5 separate regions of the Homo sapiens genome follow, and regions 2, 3, 4 and 5 are each linked to region 1. Evidence: promoter capture Hi-C in 16 types of primary human blood cells and fetal thymus (Javierre and others, 2016). All regions are on one chromosome and are shown on one strand. The core of a region is centred on a gene start or on the middle of the fragment in contact, and the rest is flanking DNA. Distances in the headings are between cores, read along the strand shown.

Region 1 (2,794 bases), core at 197-2,696:
TTTTTTTTTTGTCGAAGCAGTCTCACTATGTTGCCCAAGCTGGTCTTGAACTCCTGGGCTTAAGGGATCCTCTCACGTTGGCCTCCCAAAGTGCTGGGATTACAAGTGTGAGCCACCGCAACAGGTCTTAGATAATATTTTCTTTCTTTCGTGTTTCGTATTTTTTTCCACCCCCAGCACACATATAGCAAGAATAATTTTTTTCTAAAGGCAGAGATAAACTTGTTTCTCTTTTACTCTCTTTCTTTCTTTCTTTTTTTTTTTTTTTTGAGACGGAGTCTGGCTCTGTCGCCCAAGCTGGAGTGCAGTGGCGCAATCTCGGCTCACTGCAAGCTCTGCCTCCCGGGTTCACGCCATTCTCCTGCCTCAGCCTCCCAAGTGGCTAGGACTACAGTCGCCTGCCACCACGCCCGGCTAATTTTGTGTGTGTGTGTGTATTTTTAGTAGAGATGGGGTTTCACCATGTTAGCCAGGATGGTCTCGATCTCCTGACCTCGTGATCCGCCCGCCTCGGCCTCCCAAAGTGCTGGGATTACAGGCGTGAGCCACCGCGCCCGGCAAACTTGTTTCTTTATACCCGTGCTGTTCATATTTCAGCTTCCTGGTTACCAAGGCTACACATTCATGGCCTATTGAGTGAGATTTCAGGAGTACTGCACCTTAAGTGGGCCATATTAAAAGATTCACGTAAAGAATGACATTTTTAGTTCAAATCTCTGTTTTCCTAAGCTATTTGGTCAGAGAAATCACACATGGGTCCCCATAAGAGAGATCGTTCCAACTGAAGCCCCAGGATGTGTCTAGGTAGGCTGTGTGTGTTGGGGTGGTGGGGCCGATTCTGTATAACTAATTTACGTTTTCACCCTGTTCCACCAGGGGGCAGACTGACTCAACAAATAACCTACTTCTGCGCATCCCGCTTTTTTCAAAGTGAATTGGGACCCATAGAACTAAGGGCTTGGACAACTAACAGTAAAATTCTAGGACTGCCTTTTACTCAGCCCCAGAAACCGATGATAACTCATCTTCTAGCTTCGTTGAATAGCATCTCCAAAACTCAGCCCCATTTTTTTTTTTCAATTTCTAGTGCTCTCCCTACCTTCACCCTTATTCCCAAAACTCTTGGTTCTCTTCCCCTAATCCCTCTAAAATTTCTCTTCTAAAATTTCTGGTCGTCGTGGTTAAACCTCTACTTCCCTTCACCCCAGCCTCTCTGGCCTCAGAATGGAAGAGTAAGGTCCTAAGAGGGGAGCTACAATTACCGAAAGGCTGTGGAAAATAGCGAGAGAGACAGGCCGGCCTAAGCTAGGAAGGGAAAACCGAGAGAACAGAGGCCGGGCTGGCAGCCTTGGCCTGCTCAAAAGGGTGGGCGGGCAGGGGGTGGAGCCCGGAGGGGTGCCGCCTCTCCTCTTTCCCGGAGCCTGGGCGGAGAGGGAGGAAAACTTCTTCCTGGCCTGGGCTCCGTGCCGCTCTGTTTGCCAACCGTCCAGTCCCGCCTACCAGTGCCGGGCGCTCCCCACCCCTCCCCCGGCTCCCCCGGTGTCCGCCATGGCCAAAGCCTACGACCACCTCTTCAAGTTGCTGCTGATCGGGGACTCGGGGGTGGGCAAGACTTGTCTGATCATTCGCTTTGCAGAGGACAACTTCAACAACACTTACATCTCCACCATCGGTGAGCCCGCTGGCCATGTCCCAGACCCCGACTCTCCTGTGACCTCCTTCTCCGGCTCCCGGATTACTAGTGACCCCACTTTTCAGTCCCCTTAGAGTAAGGCTCCTAAATTCTAGTCCCTCAACCCCTGGCTCTGACCCTTCCCCCGTGCATGTCTCTGTATAGTAACCAAACCTCTCACCTCTCTGAGGCCTTCAGGTAACTCTTCAACTGCTGCCAGCTCCTCATTTTCTTGGTACCATCGCCTTAGTCTCCCCAAATCCACAAGAACTCTTCTCTATTTTTCTCTGTTCCCCTCTTCCCCTACCCCCACCACCTAGAACTCTCTCGATCCTATCTCCATGTTTCCTGTATCCCTGTCCGCCACATCTTTTTCTCCCGATCCGATGCTAGCCTCTTTCTGTCTTGCTGAGCTTCAAACTCTCCCACTGTGTCCCCACCTCACCATCTACTTCCCAGGTTCCCTGCCCCAGTCTCCCTGCACCTCAGCTGAACAAGGGTTTGGGAAGGGTGGAACAAGGTGGCTGGGTGTGCTGGAGGGTGGCCCAAGGACTGTGATCATGAATATGCAGCCAGCTTGGTGAGGAACGTGGAAATGAGGGGACTTTTGGGGTCTCTGAGTCAGCCTGGTGACTCATCCTCCTCCCAGGGGCCCCCAGCAGGCTTGGGGGAGGTGCCCAAGTTTCTACTAAGAAGAACATTGTCTCCCCTCCTCCCTTCTCTTCTTTCTTCATCTCCTCTGGCTTGGGAAATAGACAGGAAGAGTCTCACGACAATTCTGGTTACAAAGGAAAAGGAAAAATGCCCCTCTTTCCTAATTGTCTCAAAAGTAATCCTGTTTAGCCTCAGACTTTCCTAGTGCCAAGTTTGGCCCACTAGTTAATTCACATAGACTGGCTTCAGCTACTTTTTTCCTTACTCTCTACTAGGAGGGTAGGTGGGATACCAAGAGTAGAGGGCTCTAAGAAAACAGAGAAGAGGAATGTGAAAGTAATATCTGGGGGGAGACAGAGACTGAATTCAGAGAGTTGTCAGCTGGTATAACTGAATGGACCCAAGAGGCAGCCTAAGGATTTTAAGCCTCCATGCAGAATTTTCGTCACCTTTTCCCTCCCAAAATCC
Region 2 (2,794 bases), core at 99-2,598, 250 kb after region 1:
GGCCATGCTCTTCTGGATAAGAACTCTCATGGACTTGGTTACAATTGTTCTCTTCTATTCCCTGGATTTAATCCCAACCCTTTTAGCCTTGCCTCATAAATTTAAAATTTAAAACTCTGTTTTTTCACTTTCATGACTGCCATTTAGCTTCAGAATCTGGAGATAGAGAAAGGACTTTAGTCAGAGGATGACCAATTCACTGAGTAAAAAGGGACTTGTAACTATATTTGGAGAACAAGGTGATCCAGCTCTGGTCGAAGAGTTTCATACTACCCCAGTTAAACTGTAAGTTCCACCATATCCCAGATCATATATGAGGAGGGTTTATGGGTCCAGAGCAGGGTGCCTTACCTTCTGGGCTTGGGCAGGTTCAGTGAGGATGAGAGTAAACAGGCCCAGGCAGATTTCTTCATGCTGGGGGAGGCCTTTGCACACCTGGAATGTGAGAAAGGAAAACAAACTAGTTGTCACTCACAGGCAGTAAGTTCTCAAACTCAGTTTCTCCCAGAAAACATGGGACTCCTAAGGAAGATGCAAAGGAGAATAATCAACTTTTAAATCTGATGATTTCCTTCTCTTAAAAGAGATTTTTAAAAAAAGAAGAGAGATAAGGACGACAGGTGTGGTGGTGCACACCTGTAGTCCCAACTACTCCAGAGGCTGAAGCAGAAGGATCGCTTGAGCCCAGAAGTTCAAGGCTATAGTGCACTATAATCATGCCTGTGAACAATCACTGCATTCCAGCCTGGGCAACATAGCGAGACCACATTGCTATAAAAATAAAAAGCTGTACTGAAAGATGCCCAAGGCTCCAAGAGATAGGCTCCCACAGTAAAAGAGAAGAATTGAGAAATTTGATTCAGGGAGCCAAGACTTGATGAATTTCAGTCCCCTACCCCCAACCACTTAGTCTTTCCATCTTTTTGACCATGTTTCAAGACCTTCACAGCAGCAGCAGTGGCTGCAGGGACAGCATTCTACTTACATACGCATTGAGGGCATCATTGGCTTCTCTCTCCGAGACACCAGCAGTCATCGATGTCACAATGCTCATACACCTTTCCAATCTCTGGGAAGGGGTGAGAAAAAATGAACAGTGTGTCATAACACCACTTAGGAAGTACTTCTGGGCCCCTAAAAGTTTAACAATTCAAACCTGATCATGCCCATTGATCTAGCTGCCAGTTTACTTATAAAGTCACCATGAGGATAAAACCAGCAAAATCTAAAATGTGGAAACCATAAACAGGTGACCTGATTTCTTTAACACATAAATCGCAAGAAAAAAAGTGAGGGAAACCCATATATTAAGAGACTTAGGGCCAGGCGTGGTGGCTCATGCCTCTAATCCTAGCACTTTAGGAGGCCGAGGTGGGCAGATCACCTGAGGTCAGGAGTTCAAGACCAGCCTGGCCAACACGGTGAAACCCCGTCTCTACTGAAAATGCAAAAATTAGCCAGGCGCAGTGGCACATACCTGTAATCCCAGCTACCTGGGAGGCTGAGGCAGGAGAATCTCTGGAACCCGGGAGGCAGAGGCAGCAGTGAGCAGAGATCGCGCCATTGCACTCCAGCCTGGGTGACAGAGCGAGACCCTGTCTCAAAAAAATAAAATAAAATAGGGCGGGCACGGTGGCTCACACCTGTAATCCCAGCACTTTGGGAGGCCGAGGCAGGTGGATCACAAGGTCAGGAGTTTAAGACCAGCCTGACCAACATGTGAAACTCCGTCTCTACTAAAAATACAAAAAATTAGCCGGGCATGGTGGTGTGCGCCTGTAATCCCAGCTACTCAGGAGGAGGAGACTGAGGCAGGAGAATTGCTTGAACCCGGGAGGCAGAGGTTGCAGTGAGCAGACATCATGCCACTGCACTCCAGCCTGGGCGACAGAGCGAGACTCTGTCTCAAAAAAATATATTTTAATAAAGAAAATAAAATAAAAGGGACTTAGGCCAGATGCAGTGGCTCACGCCTGTAATCCCAGCACTTTGGGAGGCTGAGGTGGGCAGATCACCCGAGGTCAGGAGTTCGAGACCAGCCTGGCCAATATGGTGAAACCCTGTCTCTACTAAAAATACAAAAATTAGCTGGGTGCGGTGGTTCACACCTGTAATCCCAGCACTTTGGGAGGCCGAGGGGGTTGGATCACCAGAGGTGGGGAGTTCGAGACCAGCCTGACGAACATGGAGAAACCCCGTCTCTACAAAAATTAGCCTGGCATGGTGGCACATGTCTGTAATTCCAGCTACTCGGGAGGCTGAGGCAGGAGAATTGCTTAAACCCAGGAGGCAGAGGTCGAGGTGAGCCGAGATTGCATCATTGCACTCCAGCCTGGGCAACAAGAGTGAAACTCCGGCCGGGCGCGGTGGCTCACGCCTGTAATCCCAGCACTTTGGGAGGCCGAGGCGGGTGGATCACGAGGTCAAGAGATCAAGACTATCCTAGCCAACATGGTGAAAAAACCCTGTCTCTACTAAAAATACAAAAATTAGCTGGGCATTGTGGCACACGCCTGTAGTCCCAGCTACTCGAGAGCCTGAGGCAGGAGAATCACTTGAACCCGGCAGGTGGCAGTTGCCGTGAACCGAGATCATGCCACTTCACTCCAGCCTGGGCGACAGAGTGAGACTCCGTCTCAAAAAAAACAAGAAAAAAAAATTAGCCAGGCGTGGTGGCAGGCGCCTATAATCCCAGCTTCTCAGGAGGCTGAGGCAGGAGAATCGCTTGAACCTGGGAGGCAGAGTTTGCAGTGAGCTGAGTTGGCATCATTGCACTCCAGTCTGGATGACAAGA
Region 3 (2,794 bases), core at 85-2,584, 230 kb after region 1:
AAGTGCAGACAGTGGAATATGGAAGGGAAGCATTTATTAACTTGGGGGATAGGACCCATGACCATTTCTGCTCTCAGTCAAGGCATACCGAGAAGACCCGTTCACTGGGAGATTAGGGGAGATACACTGAATTCTGCTCATCCAGGCATGGGGAGAAAAGAGAGCTCTAACACTTACGCGGCACATGAAGTCCAGGAGTGTGGCAGTGATGGCTGGGTGGGGCTTCATGGAGTGGTGCATGACCAGGATGGCTGGTTCTGGAGGATGTGAAATTAAAGAGCCCCTCACATCAGTCAGTCTCTCTCTCTCTTTTTTTTTTTTTTTTTTTTTTTTTTGAAACAGAGTCTTGCTCTGTCACCCAGGCTGGAGTGCAAATGGTACGATCTCAGCTCACTGAAGCCTCTGCCTCCCAGGTTCAAGCGAATCTCATGCCTCAACCTCCCCAGCAGCTGGAATTACAGGTGTGCGCCACCACGCCAGGCTAAAGTCAGTCTGTTTCTATCTCCATAAAATGGGATGTCAATATACATGAATGGCTCTGGGAAGTGCTATGTCTATTCCCCCCATTTCCACTGAGCAGACCCAAGAGCAGACAGGCCCCGAAACAGCTTGTAGCCCTCATTTCCCTTCTTGTTCCCAGCATTCAGCTTTGAGAAGGGAAGTAATAGGTGAGGAGAAGCAGGACATGGTACAGCCTTTTCCTTTGCCCATGCCCTCCCCTCCTGAAGACCATGCATCCTGAAGACTGTGGGGAGGAGGTACAGTGATGGCTTAGCCTTATCAAAGCAATTCTCTTTCTAGGTCAAGGGAAAACTGATGAGGAACAACAGAGCTGCTCCCAGATAAACTGCCTCCACTCCACGGTGCCCTGAGATTTATGACTGCTATCACTAAGGAAGGCAGTGGGGGCTTAGGGGGATGGGGAAGTGGAGCCGCCTGGTCTTGGTCACATACCTATGTTCATAATGCTATCCTTGTCTGGACTAAAGAACAGCCAGTCATAAAACAAAGCCAGCTTGGCATTGGAGGCAGCGACATTTGACTGGAAAAGAGAGGGGAGAAACAGAGGGCTAGTTTCATCAATCACCCCCCTCCATTTCAGAGTCCCAAGACAGATTCCAGGCCCCACTTGGCTGTTTCATCTATGAAATTCAGTTCCTAGTGAAACACGGTGAAATGCTAACCCCCCTTGTGTTGTGTATGAGTGAATACTCTGTGGTCTTATGGTCTTAACCAAGAGGACAGAGGACAGGGATTGGGCCAGGTACCCCCCGAACCTTTTTTTTTTTTTTTCCAGACAGGGTCTTGCTCTGTTGCCCAGGCTGTAGTGCAGTGGCATGATCTCAGCTCACTGCAACCTCCACCGCCCAGGCTCGAGAGAGCCTCTCACCTCAGCCTGGGACTACAGGCACGCACCACCTCACCTGGCTCATTTTTCTATTTTTTTGTAGAGATGAGGGTCTTGCCATGTCACCCAGGCTGGAGCGCAGTGGCATGATCACGGCTTACTCCAGCCTTGACCTCTTAGGCTCGGGTGATCCTCCCAGCCTCAGCCTCCTTGGTAGCTGGGACTACAGGAGCACACCACCATGCGTGGCTTTATGTTTTGTTTTGTTTTGTTTTGGTAGAGATGGGTTTTGCCATGTTGCCCAGGCTGGTCTTGAACTCCTGGGCTCAAGTGATCCTCCCACCTCAGCCTCCCAAAGTATTGGGATTATAGGTGAGAGCCACCATGCCTGGCCAGGCCTGGGTTCTTTTCTTTTTGTTGTTGAGACAGGGTCTGACTCTGTCACCCAGGCTGGAGTGCAGTGGCAGGATCTCAGCTCACTGCAACCTCTACCTCCCAGGCTCAAGCGGTCCTCTCACCTCAGCCTGGGACTACAGCCGCACACCAACACACTTGGCTAATTTTTGTATTTTTTTGTAGAGATGGGGTCTTGCCATGTTGCCCAGGCTGGTCTCAAACTCCTGAGCTCAAGCAATCTGCCCACCTCAACCTCCCAAAGTGCTGGGATTACAGGCGTGAGCCACCGTGCTCGGCAGGCCTGGGTTCTTGATACATCCAGCAGTTCATATCTCTGATTCCCATAGGGGACAATGCTTGGACTCAGAAGTCCACTCATCACCCCTGAGCTGAGGCAACAGTCAGACTAGCACCCCTTGGCTGCCCTTTCTGGGCTCTCCAGGCACATTCCTGAAGAAGAGACCCCCACCCCTCCAGGAATAGCCTGTTGTCATATCTGAATCAGCACATTCCAAGGACCCAGTCAAATGGGGGAGGAGGAACCCTGTTGGAAGAGGTCAGGGGGCAGCCAGATGCCAGAGAATGGATAGTTTCCCACCCTAGGCACAGAGAGGAAAACATTTGAAAGGAAATGCCTCCACTGCAGATTCGCTGCATTTACAGAAGGGAAGTAGACAAAGCTGATGCCAAAAAGGCATGGTGGTGAGGGTCTAAAGAATGCAAGCTCTGAATCTGAGAAAGAAACAGTTAAGAGGAATAGCTGTATATGGTTTCTGGAAGCAAAAATGAAAAAGGCAGGGACGCTCCAGAAACCCAGGCTTTTGGGGGTTGGCAGTAATGGGGGAGATGAACCTGTTCAATCTCAAACCCAGATGGAAAATAATGAGTGTAAGTAAATTTCTAGAGACACAAAGGGAAGTGAAGGCTGAGACACTCTGGAAGACCAGAGTGAAAGAAGGGCCCTTAGGGGTCAAGTGGCCCTGGAGTCAGGAAGAAGAATGGAAACATGGGAACACCATGGAAGAGGCACCCTTCACCACCCAGTATCTT
Region 4 (2,794 bases), core at 173-2,672, 210 kb after region 1:
TCAGCATCCTCTCTGGGGGCTTTGAAGGAGTGGTCTGGGAGCAGACCCCTGCCTTCCTCTGCCTTGGTTTCGGGGAGCTAAGTATGGTGCCCGGCCCTCACCCGTGGTGCCAGAGGTGAAGATGTACAGGCACGTGTCTGTTATGCTCTGGGGGGAAGAGAGGTATCCTGGCACTGGCCCATCCACTTCAGCGGACACTTCAGCCAGCAAATCGCTAATTCCAGCAGGGTGGGTTCCTGGGCCTGCAGCCCACAGGTGGAGCCCCATGGCTCTCAGGGCGGGCAGGTCCGGCTCCAGGGACTCCAGAAACTCTAGAAGGGTGGGAAAGCACAACGCCGGGGCCCTGGCTCTACCTAGAAGAGCCTATGACCCATGTCCCCTCCCTATCCCAGCCCACACTGCTCTTGGATGAGGGTGAAGGGTATGGACATTCCATCTTGGGTCTGAGGCCTGGAACTCGACTCCTTGGGGATCCTTGGGGCACCAAAGATTCAGCCTCATCCCTTCTCAAACCCGGAGACTCCTATCTCCACCCACTTTCGAACCCCAAGGGATAGTCGGCTTCTTCCCAGGCCCAGGGATGAGACCAAGCCTTTCTGTGGTCTCCGACACGCCCCCTTCTGTGGCTGGCCCCGCCTTAGTCAGTTCGGAGCTCCAGCCTTACCTGGCGCCAGCACCAGCGCGCGCGCGCCGCAGCTGCGGAGGCAGTGCAGCAGGGGGCCCCGGCGCAGGGCGGTGGGCACAAAGGCAGTGCGCAGGCCGGCCTTGGCCAGCCCGAACCAGAGCCACAGAAACTCTGGGCCAGCGGGGAGGAGCAGCGCCACAGTTGCTCCAGGTGACAGAGGGGCGGCGGCTCCTCCACCTCTGGCGGCACCGTCCCCTCCGGCAAACTCCGCGCCGCTTCCGGCCGCTGCATCTCCGGCTCCCGGCGCTGCCCGCTCGCCTTCTCCAGCGCTCCCCTCGCCGCTGTCGCCGCCGTCGGGTCCCCAGTCCCAGCCTAGCGCACGTAGGAAGGCGCGTGCAGCCCTGTTACTCTCGCGCTCCGCCTCTGAGTAGCTAAAGCGCCGCGAGCCGTGAATGAGAAAGGTGTGCGCGGCGCGCTGCTGGGCCAGTTCCGCGAGGCGCCAGGCCAGGCTGCAGCCCCCCTCGGGACCTTCCGGGTCGGCGGCAGCCGCGGCCAGGGCGCGAGCTCGAAGAGCCCTTTTGCAGCACAGAGCTCGCACCGCAAAGGCCAAGTCCGCCGGAAGCCAGCGCAACTGCGGCCAGAGGTGTAGCTTCAGCAGCAGCAGCGGTAGCAACAGCAGCAGGGGCAGCAGCAGGAGGGCAGCCATGGAGCCCGCTTCCTCTATCGGCACCGTCTGGTTCCAGCCGCTCGCAAACATCCCTGATCCTCCCTTCCGAAAACCTAGGGCCGCTCGTTCTAGCTGAGACTTCTCCTTCCAGGGAGCGCGCGTGCGCTGGCACACGCCCATTCCCACCCAGGCCCCCACCACTCCACACGGGCGGAGAGCAGAAACCCGGGAGGAGTGCGGGTGTGGGGCGGCCCCGGACTCCCAGCCCTCCCCCCACAGCCTACGCTCCGCCCTAGGCGCGCTCCCTCCCGGACTGCTCGCGGCTCGCACCCTACCAGGTCCTGGGCGGTGCTCGCGCCTTCCCTGAATCCCAGGGTTATGTCTGTCTTCTAAGTTGTTTCTCGGCTTGGGCGGTTTAGGCATCTGGCTAAGCCCTAGAGTCCAGGCCTGAGAGCCAGGGCGTTTGGATCGCAGTCCATCTTCCCCTCAATATTTCTCGTTTTCCCGTTAAGGGAAGGTACCATTGCTCTCTCCCAAAAGAATGAACTTGGCCCCTGGCCCATTTGGTTCTGCAAGTCCCGGCCTGCCAGCCGCAACCCCAGGGGATGGGTGGGGGCTGAGAGTTAAATAGGGGAAAGGTGGAAACCCAGACTGCCAGATTTCTGAGGGGTCACGACAGAGGCCCCTCCCTTTGGGCAAGGGTACAATAATTGGGGCCAGCCAGCAAATGCTCTCCATCCTGGTTTTAATTGGGACAGAGGAAACTGGGGAAGGAGAGAGGAAGGAAAAAGAAGCCTCCAGTGGTTTAGACTTTCAAAGGAAGCAACAGCAGTGATGAGGGAGGGGAGAACCTGGATTCTGTAAAAAGACAAATTTTCGGGGTGAAGAGGAGCAGCTCTGTGCAGTTCGCCCAAACTTCACTCCTCAGTCCACCTCCATTCTCCCTGGACAGCGGGGGAACAACAGCATAGCCAAGGAACTCTCCTCTGCTGGTTCACATGGCCCAGCAAGTGGCCACACTGTGGAAGGAAGAGCATCTCTGTCCCTCCCTGGTATCCAGACTTTATCTCCAGGTACAGTTGTCCCTGGAGACCAAGCTGGAGCATCCCTCCCGTCAAGCAGCGAGTCCTCCGGCCATTCTTGGTAGGCACACAGACTTCAACTGGAGGATGACAGACCTTTTGGAAGCATCTTGTTTCTTGAGAAATGAGTAAGGACAGGCCTCATCCTACGGGGGATGGTTCTGCATAGACAGATCAGTGCCTGGCTCCCACCTCCAGTGGCAGCAGGAAGGATGGGTAGTGGCCAAAGCCAAGTCCCTTCTGCTCTAGACAAAAGTGGGGGCAGAACAGGAAGGGAAAGGGGGATGTTCTGCGGTTACAAGTAGGGGTGCCAATCAAATCAAGACCAAGCTATACATGCACGGGGCAAATGCCAGCAGACACTCCAGCACAAAAGACATTCTGGCTTGTTTTATTGTCATTTAAAAACAACTTTTAAGA
Region 5 (2,794 bases), core at 184-2,683, 130 kb after region 1:
ATTTTATAATGGCAGTATAATAGACTATATAACCTAAAACACTTCTGCTATTTCATTACAAAACACCTAGTAATGCTGGATGAAATGTAACAACTATTTTTTAATTTTTAAACAAACTTTTAAAAATGTATAGCTAGTTGAGCCTGAAAGAATTAAGGAAAATTCTCAGGGACTGCAAATGAAAGAGGAACTGAAAATGAGCAGTATGCATGTTACTTAATGCTGTGGTATTTCTGGGTGCTTTGCCTAGTCTCAGTTACTGAAAGGCTTGGTTTTTGTTTGTTTGTTTGTTTGTTTTTTGAGACGGAGTCTTGCTCTGTCGCCCAGGCTGGAGTGCAGTGGCAAGATCTCGGCTCACTGCAAGCTCCACCTCCCGGGTTCACACCATTCTCCTCTCTCAGCCTCCCGAGTAGCTGGGACTACAGGTGCCCACCACCAAGCCCAGCTAATTTTTTTGTATTTTTAGTAGAGACGGGGTTTTACCATGTTAGCCAGGACGGTCTCGATCTCCTGACCTCACGATCCGCCCGTTTCAGCCTCCCAAAGTGCTGGGATTACAGGTGTGAGCCACCGTGCCTGGCCTAAAGGCTTCGTTTTAATGTCCATGAGCCTTAGGCCTGTATGGAACAGAGTTAGAAATGCAAATCTCTATATAAAGCAGGGAGCCTTGAAGGTTCATACTCAAGAGAAAGGAAGGGACCACAGAAAATTCCATCTACTAGTTTGAGGAAACAAGGAAACTTCTGTGTCTCAGCTTGGGCTCTGGCTGGGGGTAGATGGGAATGTCTCCTGAAAATTTATGTTTGGACTCAAGAATATACAATAAGGAAAGGATCAATAGGGCAAGGATAGTCCCTCCAACAAATGTTGTTGGGAAAAGTGGATATCCACAGCAAAATAATGAAATTATCTTGTACTGTACACAAAAATCAACCCAAAATGGATTAAAGAGTTAAACATAAGACCTGAAACTATAAAACTCATAAGAAGAAAACAGGGAAAAAGCATTATGACATTGGTCTTGGCAATGATTTCGTGGATATGACATCAAAAACACAGGCAACAAAAGCAAGTGGAACTGCATCAACCTAAAAAGCTTCTGCACAGCAAACAGCAGAATGGAAAGGCAATCTACAAAATGTGAGGAAATGTTTGTGAACCATATATTTGATAAGGGGTTAATCTCCAACATATGTAAGGAACTCATACAACTCAGTAGCAAAAAATATATGTATATTAAAAAATAGGCGCTTCACTGCCGTCCGTTGATTTATTTCTCCAGGAAGAAAAATGGCATCTGTTGCAGTTGATCCACAACTGAGTGTGATGACTCGGGTGGTCAACCTGCCCTTGATGAGCTCCACATATGACCCCATGTCCTCAGCCCATGTCAGTACAAAGGACCAGTGTCCTACTTGAAGTCTGTGTGTGAGATGGCAGGGAAGGGTGTGAAGACCATCACCTCGGTGGCCATGACCAGTGTGCTCTGCCCATCATCCAGAAGCTAGAGCTGCAAATTGCAGTTGCCAATATCCGTGTCTGTAAGGGGCTAGACAGGATTGAGGAGAGACTGCCTATTCTGAATCAGCCATCAACTCAGGTTGTTGCCAATGCCAAAGGTGCTGTGACTGGGGCAAAAGATGCTGTGACGACTACTGTGACTGGGGCCAAGGATTCATCACAGGGTTGATGGACAAGACCAAAGGGGTAGTGACTGGCACTGTGGAGAAGACCCAAGTCTGTGTCAGTGGCAGCATTAACACAAGCTTAGGAAGTCAGATAATGCAGCTCATGAGCAGTGGCTTGGAACATGCGCTCACCAAATCAGAGCTCTTGGTAGGACAGTACCTCCCTCTCACTGGGGAAGAACTAGAAAAAGAAGCAAAAAAAGTTGAAGGATATGATATGGTTCAGAAGCCAAGTTGTTATGTTAGACTGGGATCCCTGTCTACCAAGCTTCACTCCCTGTCTACCAAGCTTCACTTCGTATGAGCAGGCTCTCAGCAGGGTTAAAGAAGCTAAGCAAAAAAGCCAAGAGACCATTTCTCAGCTCCGTTCTTCTGTTCACTTGATTGAATTTGCCAGGAAGAGTGTGCATAGTGCCAATCAGAAAATTCAGGATGCTCAGGATAAGCTCTAGCTCTCATGGGTGGAGTGGAAAAGGAATATTGGATACGATGATACTGATGAGTCCCACTGTGCAGAGCACATCGAGTCACGTACTCTTGCTATTGCCTGCAACCTGACTTAGCAGCTCCAGACCACATGCCACGGCCTTCTGTCCAACATCCATGATGACCACAGAACATCCAAGGTCAGGCCAAGCATATGAGGGTGATGGCAGGCGACATCTACTCAGTGTTCTGCAATGCTGCCTCCTTTGAGGAAGTGTCTGACAGCCTCCACTTCTAGCAAGGGGCAGCTGCAGAAAATGAAGGAATCTTTAGATGACTTGATGGATTTCTTGTTAACAACATGCCCCTCAACTGGCTGGTAGGTCCCTTTCACCCTCAACTGACTGAGTCTCAGAATGCTTAGGACCAAAGTGCAGAGATGGACAAGAGCAGCCAGGAGGCCCAGCGATCTGAGCACAAAACTCATTAAACTTGCCCCTGTCACCAGTGAATGATGCGGCCAGCCAGTTAACACCTTTCGTTATGTTGAAATTAACCCTGCTAGGCAACCCTAAATTGGGAAGCAAGTAGCTAGTAAAAAGGCCCTCAATTATAGTTATTTCCAGCTGGATTAAGAGCTTTAAAGTTTCTGGCTTTAGCAGATGATTTCTGTTCACCTG

Evidence for each region. Contacts are between HindIII fragments. The CHiCAGO score rates a contact against its expected background, and 5 or more counts as called.
Region 2: a fragment that was not itself captured here is called in contact with the fragment with the promoter of RAB13 in region 1 in 15 of 17 cell types (total B cells, M0 macrophages, naive CD8 T cells and 12 more); the score reaches 13.2 in total B cells.
Region 3: a contact is called between a fragment that was not itself captured here and the fragment with the promoter of RAB13 in region 1, in 17 of 17 cell types (neutrophils, total CD8 T cells, non-activated CD4 T cells and 14 more). The highest score is 10.6, in neutrophils.
Region 4: a contact is called between the fragment with the promoter of SLC27A3 here and the fragment with the promoter of RAB13 in region 1, in 17 of 17 cell types (neutrophils, M2 macrophages, naive CD8 T cells and 14 more). The highest score is 24.6, in neutrophils.
Region 5: a fragment that was not itself captured here is called in contact with the fragment with the promoter of RAB13 in region 1 in 16 of 17 cell types (total B cells, naive B cells, monocytes and 13 more); the score reaches 16.8 in total B cells.

Annotation. Positions count from the first base shown.
Region 1 is chr1:153,984,991-153,987,784 of GRCh38, reverse strand. It overlaps RAB13 (RAB13, member RAS oncogene family), which reads left to right and starts at 1,446. Exons shown (of 8, transcript NM_002870.5): 1 at 1,446-1,672. The coding sequence starts at 1,549. RefSeq lists a silencer at 1,362-1,531 and enhancers at 1,343-1,844, 2,158-2,387. The HindIII fragment of the contact is 17,219 bases long and covers 1-2,794 here.
Region 2 is chr1:153,738,926-153,741,719 of GRCh38, reverse strand. INTS3 (integrator complex subunit 3) reads right to left here. Exons shown (of 30, transcript NM_023015.5): 2 at 986-1,069; 3 at 352-435. Among named protein-coding and RNA genes, the nearest start is that of INTS3, 12 kb to the right of the region's middle. The HindIII fragment of the contact is 7,056 bases long and covers 1-2,794 here.
Region 3 is chr1:153,757,774-153,760,567 of GRCh38, reverse strand. INTS3 (integrator complex subunit 3) reads right to left here. Exons shown (of 30, transcript NM_023015.5): 11 at 955-1,042; 12 at 178-257. Among named protein-coding and RNA genes, the nearest start is that of SLC27A3, 16 kb to the left of the region's middle. The HindIII fragment of the contact is 8,511 bases long and covers 1-2,794 here.
Region 4 is chr1:153,774,035-153,776,828 of GRCh38, reverse strand. It overlaps SLC27A3 (solute carrier family 27 member 3), which reads right to left and starts at 1,422. Exons shown (of 10, transcript NM_024330.4): 1 at 665-1,422; 2 at 102-311. The coding sequence starts at 1,331. It overlaps INTS3 (integrator complex subunit 3), which reads right to left. Exons shown (of 30, transcript NM_023015.5): 30 at 2,021-2,794. RefSeq lists a silencer at 795-986 and an enhancer at 355-1,021. The HindIII fragment of the contact is 7,576 bases long and covers 1-2,794 here.
Region 5 is chr1:153,851,909-153,854,702 of GRCh38, reverse strand. The region is part of intron 1 of GATAD2B (GATA zinc finger domain containing 2B); the gene reads left to right. It also overlaps the pseudogene LOC645965. Among named protein-coding and RNA genes, the nearest start is that of GATAD2B, 70 kb to the left of the region's middle. The HindIII fragment of the contact is 670 bases long and covers 1,099-1,768 here.